2 separate regions of the Homo sapiens genome follow, and region 2 is linked to region 1. Evidence: promoter capture Hi-C in 16 types of primary human blood cells and fetal thymus (Javierre and others, 2016). All regions are on one chromosome and are shown on one strand. The core of a region is centred on a gene start or on the middle of the fragment in contact, and the rest is flanking DNA. Distances in the headings are between cores, read along the strand shown.

Region 1 (6,636 bases), core at 1-2,500:
CTTTGCAGTCCTCGGGTTTCTTGTCCTCAAGGGGACAAGGCTTCAAGGCCTGCTTCAGTTTCCCACAGAGGGAGGAGGGGCCCTCACTCTGAGCTGGGGAATGGAGCTGGGGCCTCTGAGGACTATGACTGCCTCTGGGCTCCTGATCCCTGGGGACTAGACCCAGAGTCCTCGAAACTTCCTCTTCTTCCAAGCCTGCCGGCTCCTTGACGTGGCTGTTCACATTCTGGGAGGCAGGGGGCCCCAGCCCACTCTGGCCACCTGCTGCCTGTCCCACTGAAGTTTTGGGCTTGAAGCTCTGGCACAGCTCTACGGCCTCTGGCACTCGCAACTCCCTGGCTGCCAGGAGCACCTGATCCCGGTTCCCTGAGGTGAGAGCGAGGTGACCAGTGTAGAAAAAGTCCAACAAGAGGCCAAAGATCTCAGCGAAGCCAGCAGGGAGGACGACACTGCCCCCTGAGCCATCCCCGTAGAGGCTCTGGAAAAAGTGACTGCAGCAGGCAAGGACACTCCAGTGTGCCTTAAACACCAGGCCCCCCACGTCCAGAGTGGCGTCGCAGTACTGGCCCTTCTCCCGCTGCTTGTTGAGCTCCTGCAGAACCCTCACACTGTGCTGGACGAAGGAGCCGTCCATGGTCTGGAGGGCAGGGAGGCAGAAGTGACACCCCGGCCAGCCTAAGCGAGGGTATGCAAGAGAAAGCTCCTGGAGTCAAGAGAGAGAAACGGGAAGTTGGCCTCTACTCAAATAATCATATTTATCAGCACGAGGGCTTGGGTCAGGGTGAGGGGTGCACGCGGAGGGCTGGAACACACTGACAGCCTCCCGGGGGCCGGGGGCCATATTGGATTGGCCAGGGGGGATGCTGGATGGGGGGCCAGGGTCGTGAAGAAGGGCCTGGTGAGAAAAATCCAAGTTTGGGGAAAGGAGACATGGGATGAGAGCGAACGGACTGGCCCGGCACAGTGAGAGGATCCCGGACGGCGGAGGGCGGCAGCCGGGGACAGGTGAGCGAAGCCCACGCCGCGCCCACAGGTCCCGAGCGGCCGAGCGGAAGGCAGCCACGGCGGCCCGCAGCCCCTCCCTCCCTCACCCCGCGCCCTCCTCACCCAGGCAGGTCCTCCCTGAGCTGGCCCCACTGGCCCCCTGCTCCGTCGCCTCCACAGCCCACGAACCTAGTGCCCGGCTATGCGTACCCCGCCGACAGTGCGGAGACTCCACCGTCTCCGCGCCGGACGTGACGTCAAAGCGTGCAGGCCAGGAGGTGCGCCTCGGAAGCGTAGAGCTTCTAGCTCCGGCCCCCGAGGGCGGGGCCCCGCAGAGAACGGCCAATGGGATGCGGGGACGACGCCTCGCCCTGTTCTTTTGGCGCTGGGCCCGCCTCCGGAGTTGCCTAGCAACGTCAATCTGGGCGGTCAGCCTTTTCCAGGCTCTGGGTTCAGACTTGAATCCGTTACACCTCACACTCTCCCACGACAGGAGACCAGATACGCATTTCACTTCTTTATTGGCAGCCCGGAGCCTGGTCTAGGCTCTCCCAGGCGCTTACACGTCCCAACCCCAGACCGCGATGCCCAAAGACCTCCCGGACACCCCCGGCCTGCTCGACCTTCGACCCTCAGGGCAGAGAAGGCTGCCAGCCGTGCCTGCTGACCCACTGGTCAGGTGGAGCCGCAGCGCCTCGTGTAGTCCTGAATGGAGGCCTGGAAGTGCTCTGTGCTGTTGAGGTCTGGGCGGCAGAGGATCACGTAGCACTTAGGCAGAAAATACCCACCGAAGCCGCTGCTCAGGCTGCTCAGCCCAGCCATCATGTTGGCCGCAGGCAGGTACTTGCCGTCGTAGACGCTGGCCGTGGTGAAGAAGGCGATCCAGGACACGAAGTTGAAGAGCAGGCTGAAGGTGACACATTTGGCCTCGTTGTAGTTCTCTGGCAAGTCCTTACCCAGGTAGCTGCAGGCAAAGGCACTGATGGAGAGGAGGCCATTGTAGAGGAAGGCCAGTATGAAGCCCAGGGAGTTGGTCTCTGTGCACTCAAGCATCACCAGATGGGGGAAGCGCTGGTATTCCCTAGCAGGCAGTGGGGTCCACACCACCAGCCAAGTTAGACAGATAAGCAGCTGGGCCGCTGAGCTGATCATCACAAACAGGCCAGCACCGTGGTTTTGGACCCAGGCGTGGTAGAATGTAGGTACCTTGGTGGAAAACTTGAAGATGATGATTAGTTGGAATGAGCGAACTGTCAGGCAGGACAGGAAGATGGTGAAACCAAGGGCAAAGAGGGCCTGGCGTAGCAAGCACGCAGGCCTTGTGGGTTCCCCAAAGAAGCCATAGAGGCTGCCACTACCTGCTGCCAGGGAGCCCAGCATAAGAAAGCACAGGCGGCCCCCTGCTGACCTCACCACAGGGGTGTCTAGGTGCCAGGCAAACAGGCCAGCAGTCCCAAGCAGCAGCAGCAGCAGCAGCGTGTTAGCTGCCAGCAGCACCCAAGAGGTGTGCTCACGCAAAGCCAAAAACACCACAGTGCGCGGGAAGCAGGTCTGGCTTCCCTCAGGTGCCCACTCTTCTTTCCCACAAGGCTGGCATCTGTAGAGGTCTGAAAGGGAAGGCCAAGAAGGTTCCTGAGAGCCAGATGAGCAGAGTAGGAATAGGAAATAGGGGCCTGCAAGATACTGGGAGAATTGTACCAGGGCAGCTAGACTATACTAGGCATAGTGGGATGGGGGTAGCCGGGAGTGGGGCCTGAGGCCACGCATTTCCTCAAAATGCCTGTGTTAATTACAGACTCTGGAGACACACAGGTCGGTTCTGTATGGCTCATGATCCCATGAGGGTTTTGCAAACCCTAGGGAGGACCTTAACCTGGTAGCTCTGCCCACATACCAGAGAGGTTACGATCTGATGGGAGCAGCCTGCTCCCAAGGGAGGGCATTGTAACCCCTCTCTCTTGCCAGCATTTCCATGAACCACTTTCCTGAGCTGCTGCTCTGTGGTTTCTCTGAGTCCTGACCCTCTGAGGACAGAAGGGAAGTATTCCTGTCCCTACAGAGATGGTGAAAGGAAAGAATGTGGCCCCTGGACACCAACTAAGGACCTGAGTCCTTAGCTACCTAATTTGCTCTCTGTTCTTGACCTTGCATTTCTGGATGGGGAATGCTGTTTTTTTCTCTGCTGCAGACACGCTAGTATCTGTATTCAGGCCAAGCTGTTCAAGGAGCTAGCTGTCTTTGGCATGGGCAACAGAAGGGACAGTAGGACAAGAGGGCACAAAGGGAACAATAGCTATATTCATTTAGAGAAAGAGGTTGAATTCAGGATACGACTGCTTTTGTAGGAGTTGTGATGACAGCTCTCTAACAGAGGACACACCTCAGTCTAAGGCTTTCAGTTGGCTAATTCTTTCTTTCTTTCTTTTTTTTTGAGACAGAGTTTTTCTCTTGTCGCCCAGGCTGGAGTGCAATGGTGCAATCTTGGCTCACTGCAACCTCCGCCTCCCGGGTTCAAGCAATTCTCCTGCCTCAGCCTCCCGAGTAGCTGGAATTACAGGCACACGCCACAACGCCCGGCTAACTTTTTTTGTATTTTTAGTAGAGATGGGGTTTCACCATGTTGGTCAGGCTGGTCTCGAACTCCTGACCTCAGGTGATCCACCCACCTCGGCCTCCCAAAGTGCTGGGATTACAGGTGTGAGCCACCGCGCCCGGCCTCCTTTCTTTTTTTGGGGGGACGAATTCTCGCTTTGTGGTCCAGGCTGGAATGCATCTTGGCTCACTGCAACCTCCGCCTCCTGGGTTCAAGTGATTCTCCTGCCTCAGCCTCCCGAGTAGCTGGGATTACAGGCACGCGCCACCACACCCAGCTAATTTTTTATATTTTTGGTAGAGATGGGGTTTCACCATGTTGGCCAGGCTGGTCTCGAACTCCCGACCTCAAGTGATCCACCCGCCTCAGCCTCCCAAAGTGCTGGGATTACAGGCATGAGCCACCGCACCCAGTGGCTGATTCTCTTGATCAGAATTCTGTCTGGTAGCAGGTGTCCTCCAACCTGAAGCTAACTGGCAGCCCAGTGACTGGGCCTTGGTTCTGGGGCAGGGCACATGGGGCCCAAGGGAGGCCCTCCCTCCACCGTGCAGCCCCCGGGAGTGCTGGGTAGCTCGCCTGCTCCATTGCCCACTCACCACTCTTGTTGAGGAAGGTCCCAGCCCCACAGGGCACACACTCAAAGCAGCAGTGATGGAAACCCGTAACCACTCGCTGGTGCCCTTCAAGACAGTCGCTGGAACACACAGACTTAGGCACCTGTAAGAAGCCAGAGGGGCCACACGTAGGGGCCCAAGTCAAAGGACAGCTCACATGTGGAACAGAAAACAGAATCTCTGTGCATCTGCCCTCAGGGCTCACTCCCAGGGCAGGGCCCCTGGTCGTGTGAACTTCCGCCCCAGGGCATCTGCACACTCGCCTACGGAGTGTCTTCCCTGCTTCCCTGGCCAGGATGGGTAGAGTGGTGGCAGCTGGACCCCTGGGGCCCCCCTCCTGCTCCCTGTACACTGTGTCAGCATCACCCCCAGGCTCTAGGTTGCCCATAAGCCAGTTACATGGTGAGTAGCCACATCCCCATTACCTGGTTGTCCTTTCCGTGCCACTGGATTTTGGTCTCATTTATGTTTAGCTGAACTGGAGACCATGTGGAGGAACCGAGGACCGTGAAGGTCCACTTGGGTCCATTCCAGTCCCAGGCAATTATGTTATAGCTACTGAGGGGATCTCTGTTGTCATTAAACGCCACAGTGTCCTTGTGTAGAAGGAAATGCACCTTGTGGATCTGCTCCAAAAGCTGAAAGAAACGCGTATCATGAAGCCACCACAGACAGCACAGACCCACATGGTCCCAGAAGCAAGGGCCTGGGGCCTTCCTGGGTTTCCGTCCTGGTGGTTTCAGCCCATCAGGAAGGTCTCGTCCCTTCCTTCTTAGGAAGCCCCTCAATCTTCCCCACCAACCTCCTGAGAGGAGGCCTCTAACAAACACTCCTTTACAGACAGTTTTAGCCCTGGATCTTATCACTTGACACTTCCAAGACACAGTGGGTGAGAGAAGGCAAGGATCAGAGAGAAAGATCTGTCTAAGAGAAGAGAGCTAATGCCTGTAATCCCAGCACTTTGGGAGGCCGAAGCAGGAGGATCACTTGATGCCAGGAGTTCGAGACCAGCCTGGCCAACATGGTGAAACCCCATCTCTACTAAAAATACAAAAATTAGGCCGGGTGCGGTGGCTCACGCCTGTAATCCCAGCACTTTGGGAGGACGAGGTGGGCGGATGACAAGGTCAGGAGATTGAGACCATCCTGGCTAACATGGTGAAACCCCGTCTCTACTCAAAATACAAAAAAAATTAGCTGGGCGTGGTGGCGGGCGCCCGTAGTCCCACCTACTTGGGAGGCTGAGGCAGGGGAATGGAGTGAACCTGGGAGGCGGAGCTCACAGTGAGCCAAGATCGCACCACTGCATTCCAGCCTGGGCAACAGAGCGAGACTCTATCTCAAAAAAAAAAAAAAGAAAAGAAAAATTATCCAGGCATGGTGGTGGGTGCCTGTAATCCCAGCTACTCAGGAGGCCGAGGCAAGAGAATCACTTGAACCCAGGAGGTGGAAGTTGCAGAGAGCCGAGATCGCATCACTACACTGCAGCCTGGGTGACAGAGCCAGACTGTCTCAAAAAACAAAACAAAACAAAACAAAAAACCTCAAGTTAGTGGCATTTATCCCCCTTGGCATTTAGAGTGACCGGAGAGTGCCCACTCTGCTCATCTCAGGATTGGCTGTTCTCCCTGACAGGAGGTGCTGGGGTGGGCTCTCTTACCTGCCAGGGGTAGACTCGGCCCCTGGAACAAGCTCCAGAGGCACAGCCCAGGAGCTGGTGGAGGCCATGGGCCACCGCATACACAGCCCGGTATGCGTTGTAGGCAGAACTCATGGAGAAGGCTTTGAGCTTGGGCATCGTGTGTGCCATGAAAGCTTGGCATTCTCTGCAGAGCTGATTGCTGCTGCACCAGGAGCCCTTGTGGCAAGGCCTAGGGGCCTTCTTGTCTGCCCGGGCATAGGCTTCTTCAAACGCCTTCAGGCCAGGGACAGCCCTCTTCTGGATGGCCACGCCCAGCACCATCCCAATGCGCTGGATCCCGGGCACCCCAGTGATGTGCCTGGAGAGGGCCCAGGCTTCTGAGGCGACCCACACCTTGCCAGTCAGGTTGGTCAGCACCACGGACTCGAAAAACACCCTGGCCAACTGCCGGCTGGAAAAAACAACCACGACGGTGGCCCCGGCCTGGGCCAGGTGGCGCATGAGGCACTGCATCCTCTCATCGCCCACCTGGGCAGAGAAGGGCATGATGTCCTTGAAAGCAATGCAGATCCCCTGACCAGTGGCCTGGTTCTCCAGTGCCTGCACCCCTAGCTGCCCATAGTCGTCACTGCTGCCAACCAGAGAGATCCAGGTCCACCCGAACTTCTGCAGCAGCAGCACCATGGTCTCCACCTGGTACTTGTCATTGGGGATGGTGCGCAGGAAAGAGGGATACTGCCGCTTCACGCTGAGCGTCTCGCTGCTGGCCGCATAGCTAATCTATGGGAGGTCCCGTTCAGCCA
Region 2 (6,524 bases), core at 1,755-4,254, 1.2 Mb before region 1:
AAAGGTCTCTTCCAAAATTTTAGGAAAAATGACAGCATCTCAACTCACCTGTTCTATAACATCCAGTTGTTACAACTTGAAGTAGTAGGTATTGGAACTAAGAATGATATAAATAGAAATTAACAATTCGGAGATTAGAATAAGGTGCAGGAAATTACTCTGCAGTGTAATTTTTGTTTTCTCTTAATTCAAGAGAGCTTGGGAATGCTAAGGAGCTAGAAGCACCTCATAACCAAAGTCACTGAGCTGCACAGCACACAGAACGGGCTGCTTCTGCTTTTAGATGTTTTCTCTGGCAAGGGCGGAGAAGCTACACCATGCCTCTTTAGCAGTTCCTCCTTTGCTTCTCTCAAATTGTGGTTGCTGAAACGTTGTTATCCTTCTTAAAAGCCTACATCTAGAGCAGGCCCTTAGGAAAAGTCACCCAGGTTGATATGGCAAAATGCATGAATTCTTACTGTGTTTTTGGAAGTGTGTTCTGAAGCGATAGTGGCCAGCTCCTCAAGACTGTACATGCTCACATCTGCCTGAGGTGCTCCATTCTGACTGAGAATCTGGAAAAACTCACTGTTTGCTAAGAAACACAGGGAGATAAACAGGTAGTCCAGTGACAACAGTATCTTTAGGAAACCATTTCATCACTATCAAGCTGGATTATTTTTTTCGGATGAGAACACCTCAGTGCATTTTTCTCAAAAACAGATCATTTTCTGCTTTTACCTAAAATACTGATAGTTGTGCAAACTTAAGATTTGATTTTATGAATTCTGCATGTTCTGGATCACAGGAAGCAAGATACATTTAAGGTACTAACTAAAAATTTCAGATGCATACACAATTTTTTTGCGGGGGGAGCAGAAACAGTACTCTGTCATTCAGGAACATATCATATATGAAGCACTGAGGTTTGTGCTAAAGAGAATATGGCTTTAATGAAATCCCTGGAAATGTCAGAGAGAAAAAGTGTTTACAATGGTTCATTTTTAGTTTGGTAAATTCCTGATATATCATTACTGCATTTTTATCATTATTATTTTTTAGAGACAGAGTCTCGCTCTGTCACCCAGGCGGGAGTGCAGTGGCGTGATCTCGGCTCACTGCAAGCTCCGCCTCCCGGGTTCACGCCGTTCTCCTGTCTCAGCCTCCCGAATAGCTGGACTACAGGCGCCCGCCACCACACCCGGCTAATTTTTTGTATTTTTAGTAGAGACGGGGTTTCACCGTATTAGCCAGGATGGTCTCGATCTCCTGACCTCGTGATCTGCCCGCCTCGGCCTCCCAAAGTGCTGGGATTACAGGCGTGAGGCACCGCGCCCAGCCTCATTACTGCATTTTGAAAGTATGTGTACGGCATGTAAAGGTAACTATTTCGTGGAATGCATTTTTTTCCCATAACTTCCATAGAAGACAATATTTCTTTAAAAGGTCAGCCTTCAAAATGTGCTTATGCTAAACTCTACTCTCTTGCAACACATGAGCAAAACATTGCATAGGTATTATACACTATTATACAGATAAAGTTTTCCTGGTCTTTCACATGTGAACAATTAAGACACGAATGGAATCGGTGTAGATTTGCTCATCTTCCACAAAGCACCAGAAAAAGCTCAAATTATTTGTCTGACTGAGACCCCACTGACCACTCCTCTGGCTGCTTGTATGAGTCCTGGTGCATTCGTAGGATGAAATTTCTCTCCGGCTTGTTTACCTTGAACGCTGTGGACACAGCGGAGAGCATAGTTGAGGGCATCTAGAGTGCTTGGTTTATTGCGTCTCTCCGAGGGGAAGTATTTTTTCATTTCTTGGACAACCATGATAAGTTCTTCAGAAACTCTGTTTCGATCTTGCTGTTCACTGGAAGATAAAAAAAAATTACAACTTCATCCTCTGAAGACAACAGCATCTTGCGGCTTAGGGAACACAAACTGCAAGCCAGGTAAGTTTCTAAGTGCTCTACCGGCATCAGTCCACAGGGTGGTGACCCCTCTTCCTCTAGGTGGGGAACTCGAGGCAAAGCAACTGGTGAATGACAAACATTCTCCACTTACTTTCCCTTAATCCACTTGAGCCCCAACTCAGCTAACTTTTGTAACCACTTTTCCCTCCTGATACTCTTCGGTAATTTTCTTCAGTGTCACGGATCACTTCATCCTACATTGCCCGAGTCTCCCCTTTACACTTTCCCCTGGGCTTGAAAACAAAAGAATAAAAAGATTTAGGTCCCCCTTTCCCTGCTCCAGGGAAGGACAACGAACGCATGGGGCCCTCGGCCTGAAGCCAGCGCGTCACCTGTGGCTGCTGTCCGCCAATTTCCTCTGCAGATGGAACTCGGGGCTCCACCGCTCCCCCGATTCTTCGCCCAGGGCCTCGTCCTTAGCCCCCCGTCTCCCGGGGCCAGGAGCTTCCCCGCGGGGCATCTCGAGGTCTCCGCGGGGCTCCACGTCGTGCTGGGACGGCCCGCAGCCTGCTTCTCGCTCACTTTGCAGTCAGTGACAGACACCGGTTTCTCACTCCGGTCCCCGCCATGGCGTTAGTGAGAACAGGCGGCCACCACGAGCCAGGGGGTCACGCTCATCTCCGAGGAGCTTTTCCCTCCAACATTTTCAAAACCCGGAGCTCGCTCGACTTTCAGGACTCCGGCCTAGGGGGAGGAGACAAGGGTGACAAGGGACAAATGGAACAGACAGTCCGACGCCAGCGGCCCGGCTGGCTGGGGCGCCCCGACCGCGCGGTCCTCACCCCTGCCCCAACTTTCCCGCGCGCCGAGGGATGGGGCCCGGGGAGGCGGGTGGCTCGGAAGCGCCACGCTCCGGGGGCCCCCAGTACCGAGGGCAGGGCTCGCGGGGCTCCTCTGCCGCGCGCGAGTGCCCAGAACTCCCGCCCGGCCGCCCAGAACTCCCGCCCGGCCGCGCACTCACCTGCTGCCCCCGCCCTTGGCCCCGCGCACAGCCGCTCGCCCCCGGGGCCGCCCTCGCGCAGTCTCGAGGCTCGCCGCGTGCCGGTCAGCAGCCGGCGCCGCGCCCCCTGCCGCCGCGTGACCGGTCCCGCCCCCGGGCCGTGCGATTGGTCGTCGGGGCCGACTCCGCAGGCCTCCATTGGCCCTGGGGCGGGGCGCGAGCCGGTGCGCCCGGGTTATATAAGCCAGGGCGAGGGGGCGGGGCCCCCGGGGCGCGTTACATAACGCGCGGGCTCGGGCGGAGGCCGGCGCTCGGCCAATCCCAGCAGGCCGGCGGGCGGGCAGGGGACGGGGTGGCCCTCAGCGGCCTCAGGCCTGTGCCGCGCGACTGGAGTGTCCGGCCCCCTGGCACGGCGCCGGGGCGGAGCCGCTGAAGCCAGCGCAGAAATGATAGGGCCAGGAAGCTGCCAGCCACGTGGGGGCGGGACCCGGGCTCTGTGGGGCGGGGCGGGTCCGGCCCAACCTCCACGTGAGAGGCGGGCGGGGAAGGAGAGGGGAGTGAGAGGCGGGGGCAGAGAGGGGCGAGAGGCGGAGTCGGGGGGCTTGAGTCGGGGTCAGGGGGAGGCTGGAAATGGGGACGGATGGGGGCGAGAGGCGGGGACGGGGGGGCGGATGGGAGCGGGGGTGCCGAGAGACGTGGGGAGCGAGAGGCAGGGGCGGGGGGGCGACGGTGTCGAGGGCGGGGGCATTAGAGGGAGGGAGAGGCGGGGACTGGGGGCGAGCAGGGGCGGCTCAGGCCAGCGCTCTGGGGTCGAGTCCTGGAGTTTGTAGGTGGCTCCCGGCTGCCCGAGCGGGTGTGGGGAGGAGCCCAGGGTGGGGCGGGCTGCCGGCAGCGGTCCTCATCGTGCTTTGGCCGTCTTTCTGGGTTCCCACGGTTTTCACCGCCCGTGACCTACCGAGCCCACCCCAACCGCCCCCATCCTCCGCTAACTCTTTCGGTGAGTGGGGTGGACTTGGAGGAACCGGGCCATAAAGCAGCCCTGGTAAAAAGCCCACCCGATTTTTAGAAACAGATTTTTTATTTTTTGAGACAGGGTTTTGCTCTGTTGTCCAGGCTGGATGGAGTGCAGTGGCGCGATTTTGGCTCACTGCAACCTCCGTCTTCTGGGCTCAAGCCAGTTTCCTGCTTCAGCCTCCCGAGTAGCTGGAACTACAGGTGCAGCCACCACACCTGGCTAATTTTTGTGTTTTTGGTAAAGATGGTCTGTGTTAGCCAGGCTGTTCTCAAACTCCTAAGCCCCAGTGATCTGCTGGCCTCGGTCTCCCAAAATGTTGGGATTACTGGCGTGAGCCACTGCACCGGCCCAGAAACAGAATTTTGACGGTGGAACTTAAAACACTTCCCTGCACTTCCTAAAATTAGATTCATTTGGCAACTGGAGGAAGACAAACGTAAAAGACACTCTGTTTCAGAAAAGAAGTTGTAGAGCCCTTTAAAAAAAATGTCTGAAAGCTCAGTTTAGTATCTCAACATGTTAGAAATGAAAGGTACAGTGCAGAGTGCCGCCCCTCTTCGCTGCCTGGTACAGAAAAAATATTCAGTATTTGTTGGATGGATGAAATTGTATGTAAAGGAAGAGGGGAAAAGTGAGGTGAGTGTTCATGTTAGGTATTGAATAAACCACCTTATATCTTCCAAGCGATACTCTAGGTTGGCTTGCTCTCCTCCGAAGCTGGGTTTTGTCAAACTGCATTCGTTCAGCAAGCATTTATTGCGTGCAGATCTGGGTAGGGACGCTTGGAATCCCAGCGGATAGAACAGTGGCCCAAAGTCCCTGCCACCCAGGGAGTTGACGTTTTATTGAGAAAGCCATACAAACAACCCCATAAACAAGTTCATAAAGCCTAAAGCGATGTGTAGAAAACAAACTACTGGAAGGAAGAGTAACTGGGAGAAAGGTGGAGTGGGGAGGCCAGAGCCTGCTTAGTCAGATCAGCAGGGCAGGCCTCTGGGAAGGCGGATTTCAACCTGAGATGAGAGGCGCCTGCCGCGAGTGGGGAAGGCGGATTTCAACCTGAGATGAGAGGCGCCTGCCGCGGGTGAGGAAGTAGACCCGGCAGAGCTGAAAGTACCTGCAGAAGACCTTTGGAAAGAAGTCAGTTTGCTGATGAGAAACCGAAACAAACTTTATCAGGTCCATTTCTCCCTCAGGGCTTCCTTGCCTGTTTTCATTCATAGCTAACTCTGGCCTTCAAGCCACACCCTGATGTTGAAAGTCTCATGGGCACAAGTCTCTCCGATGTCAACAGCTATACTTTGGTGGAGTACCTTGCTTGGAGAAGAGAGAGCTGGAGAGTCGTGTGACATGAAGTCAGAAAACTAGAAAGGACCAGATCATCGTGGGACCTGTAATTCGGGAAAGGGACTTGGATTTTCCTATTGTAAACATAAGCAAAAGTCCTCTTCCACCCGTATTATATTGTTTCCTAGGGGTTCTACGATAAGAATGGAAATACATTCATGAGGAAAAAAGGATCTACAGGAACAGAGCCATGTGTCTGGGGATGTCCCTCACCTATCCACTCATCTATCCCAGGGTCCATGCCAGCAGCCATCTAGTCTACCACAGACGGGGTCGGCTCTGCACATCACTTTAGAAAGACCATCTATTTAGGGAACTCCAAAGCCACATCCTGAATTTTGGTAATTGTGTAAAAGCCAGTTTCCTCCTCATCGCCTATACTAAAAAGCACTTTTCACAAGGGGAGCGGTTTTCTTCTGTTCACTGGGGTATGCGGAAATGCTGGGTACCAAAAGGGTAGAGTACCTAGAGAGGGGCTGGTGAGAAAAGGGGGAGACAGTTTCGGGGCTTCTAAGGGACAGGTATGGGGAGCAGCAAGGAATGGCATTTTTAGGACTCGGACCAGGTGCAGCTATTCCTCTACAAGGAGCACAGGTGCCACAATCATGTTTATAAACACTTTATTTAGGTGATTACAGTGGGTAAGTTCCCAGCTAAGTGCACAGATAGAAGCGAGGTATTTCTGGGTTAATGCAGGAGCCAGTGGGTTACATGGGTCTGGGCACTGTGGCCAAGGGGCGAGTACCAAGGTTTCTGAGTCAGACCCGGCCAGAGACCCTGCGCTGAAGGTGGACTAATGTCCTAACACTGCCAGCTGCTTTCTCCTCACAGCTGGCCACACCGCAAGGCATCTCTTCAACAGTAAATCATTTCAGCGATGTTAAGGGAACAGACGTTAAAGAAATGGAAGCTGTGTCCTGGTGCGCCTCAGCTGTTGCTGCTTTATAAGTCATAATAGCATGTGAACAAGAGTTTTAGAATATTCCAGTAACAATGAGCCACAGAGCGATAAAGTCTGTGTCTTTCTCCCTCAGTGCCTCCTTGCCTGTTTTCTTTCATACCTGAATTCCCATCTTTAAGCTGTGGATCCTGATGTTGAGTCTCATGCATACAAGAAAAGTTTTTCCGATGACAAAGTTTCTGCTTCCAGCATTCCCATCAACAGCATTCTCTGCAGTTGATGATATCAAAGCAAAGGTCTCTGGTTGGCTACTCTCTGTGAAAAGAGCCATTCACCCCTGACCAATGCCTAATTGCAGGCATAA

The links. The method cuts DNA at HindIII sites, captures the fragments that hold promoters and counts their contacts. A CHiCAGO score of 5 or more calls a contact.
Region 2: the fragment with the promoter of PER3 here is called in contact with the fragment with the promoter of ZBTB48 in region 1 in 2 of 17 cell types (M0 macrophages and neutrophils); the score reaches 6.9 in M0 macrophages.

The regions. Positions count from the first base shown.
Region 1 is chr1:6,574,608-6,581,243 of GRCh38, reverse strand. It overlaps ZBTB48 (zinc finger and BTB domain containing 48), which reads right to left and starts at 1,250. Exons shown (of 11, transcript NM_005341.4): 1 at 1,108-1,250; 2 at 1-703. The coding sequence starts at 634. It overlaps TAS1R1 (taste 1 receptor member 1), which reads right to left. Exons shown (of 6, transcript NM_138697.4): 3 at 5,852-6,613; 4 at 4,617-4,829; 5 at 4,174-4,294; 6 at 1,489-2,591. The coding sequence ends at 1,660. LOC107984912 (a long non-coding RNA gene) reads left to right here and starts at 1,811. Exons shown (of 3, transcript XR_002958250.1): 1 at 1,811-1,897. RefSeq lists a silencer at 986-1,115 and an enhancer at 1,167-1,866. The HindIII fragment of the contact is 12,295 bases long and covers 1-6,008 here.
Region 2 is chr1:7,780,771-7,787,294 of GRCh38, reverse strand. It overlaps PER3 (period circadian regulator 3), which reads right to left and starts at 3,004. Exons shown (of 22, transcript NM_001377275.1): 1 at 2,919-3,004; 2 at 2,290-2,641; 3 at 1,709-1,854; 4 at 459-574. The coding sequence starts at 2,417. VAMP3 (vesicle associated membrane protein 3) reads right to left here. Exons shown (of 5, transcript NM_004781.4): 5 at 5,863-6,524. RefSeq lists a silencer at 2,929-3,538. The HindIII fragment of the contact is 8,097 bases long and covers 1-6,524 here.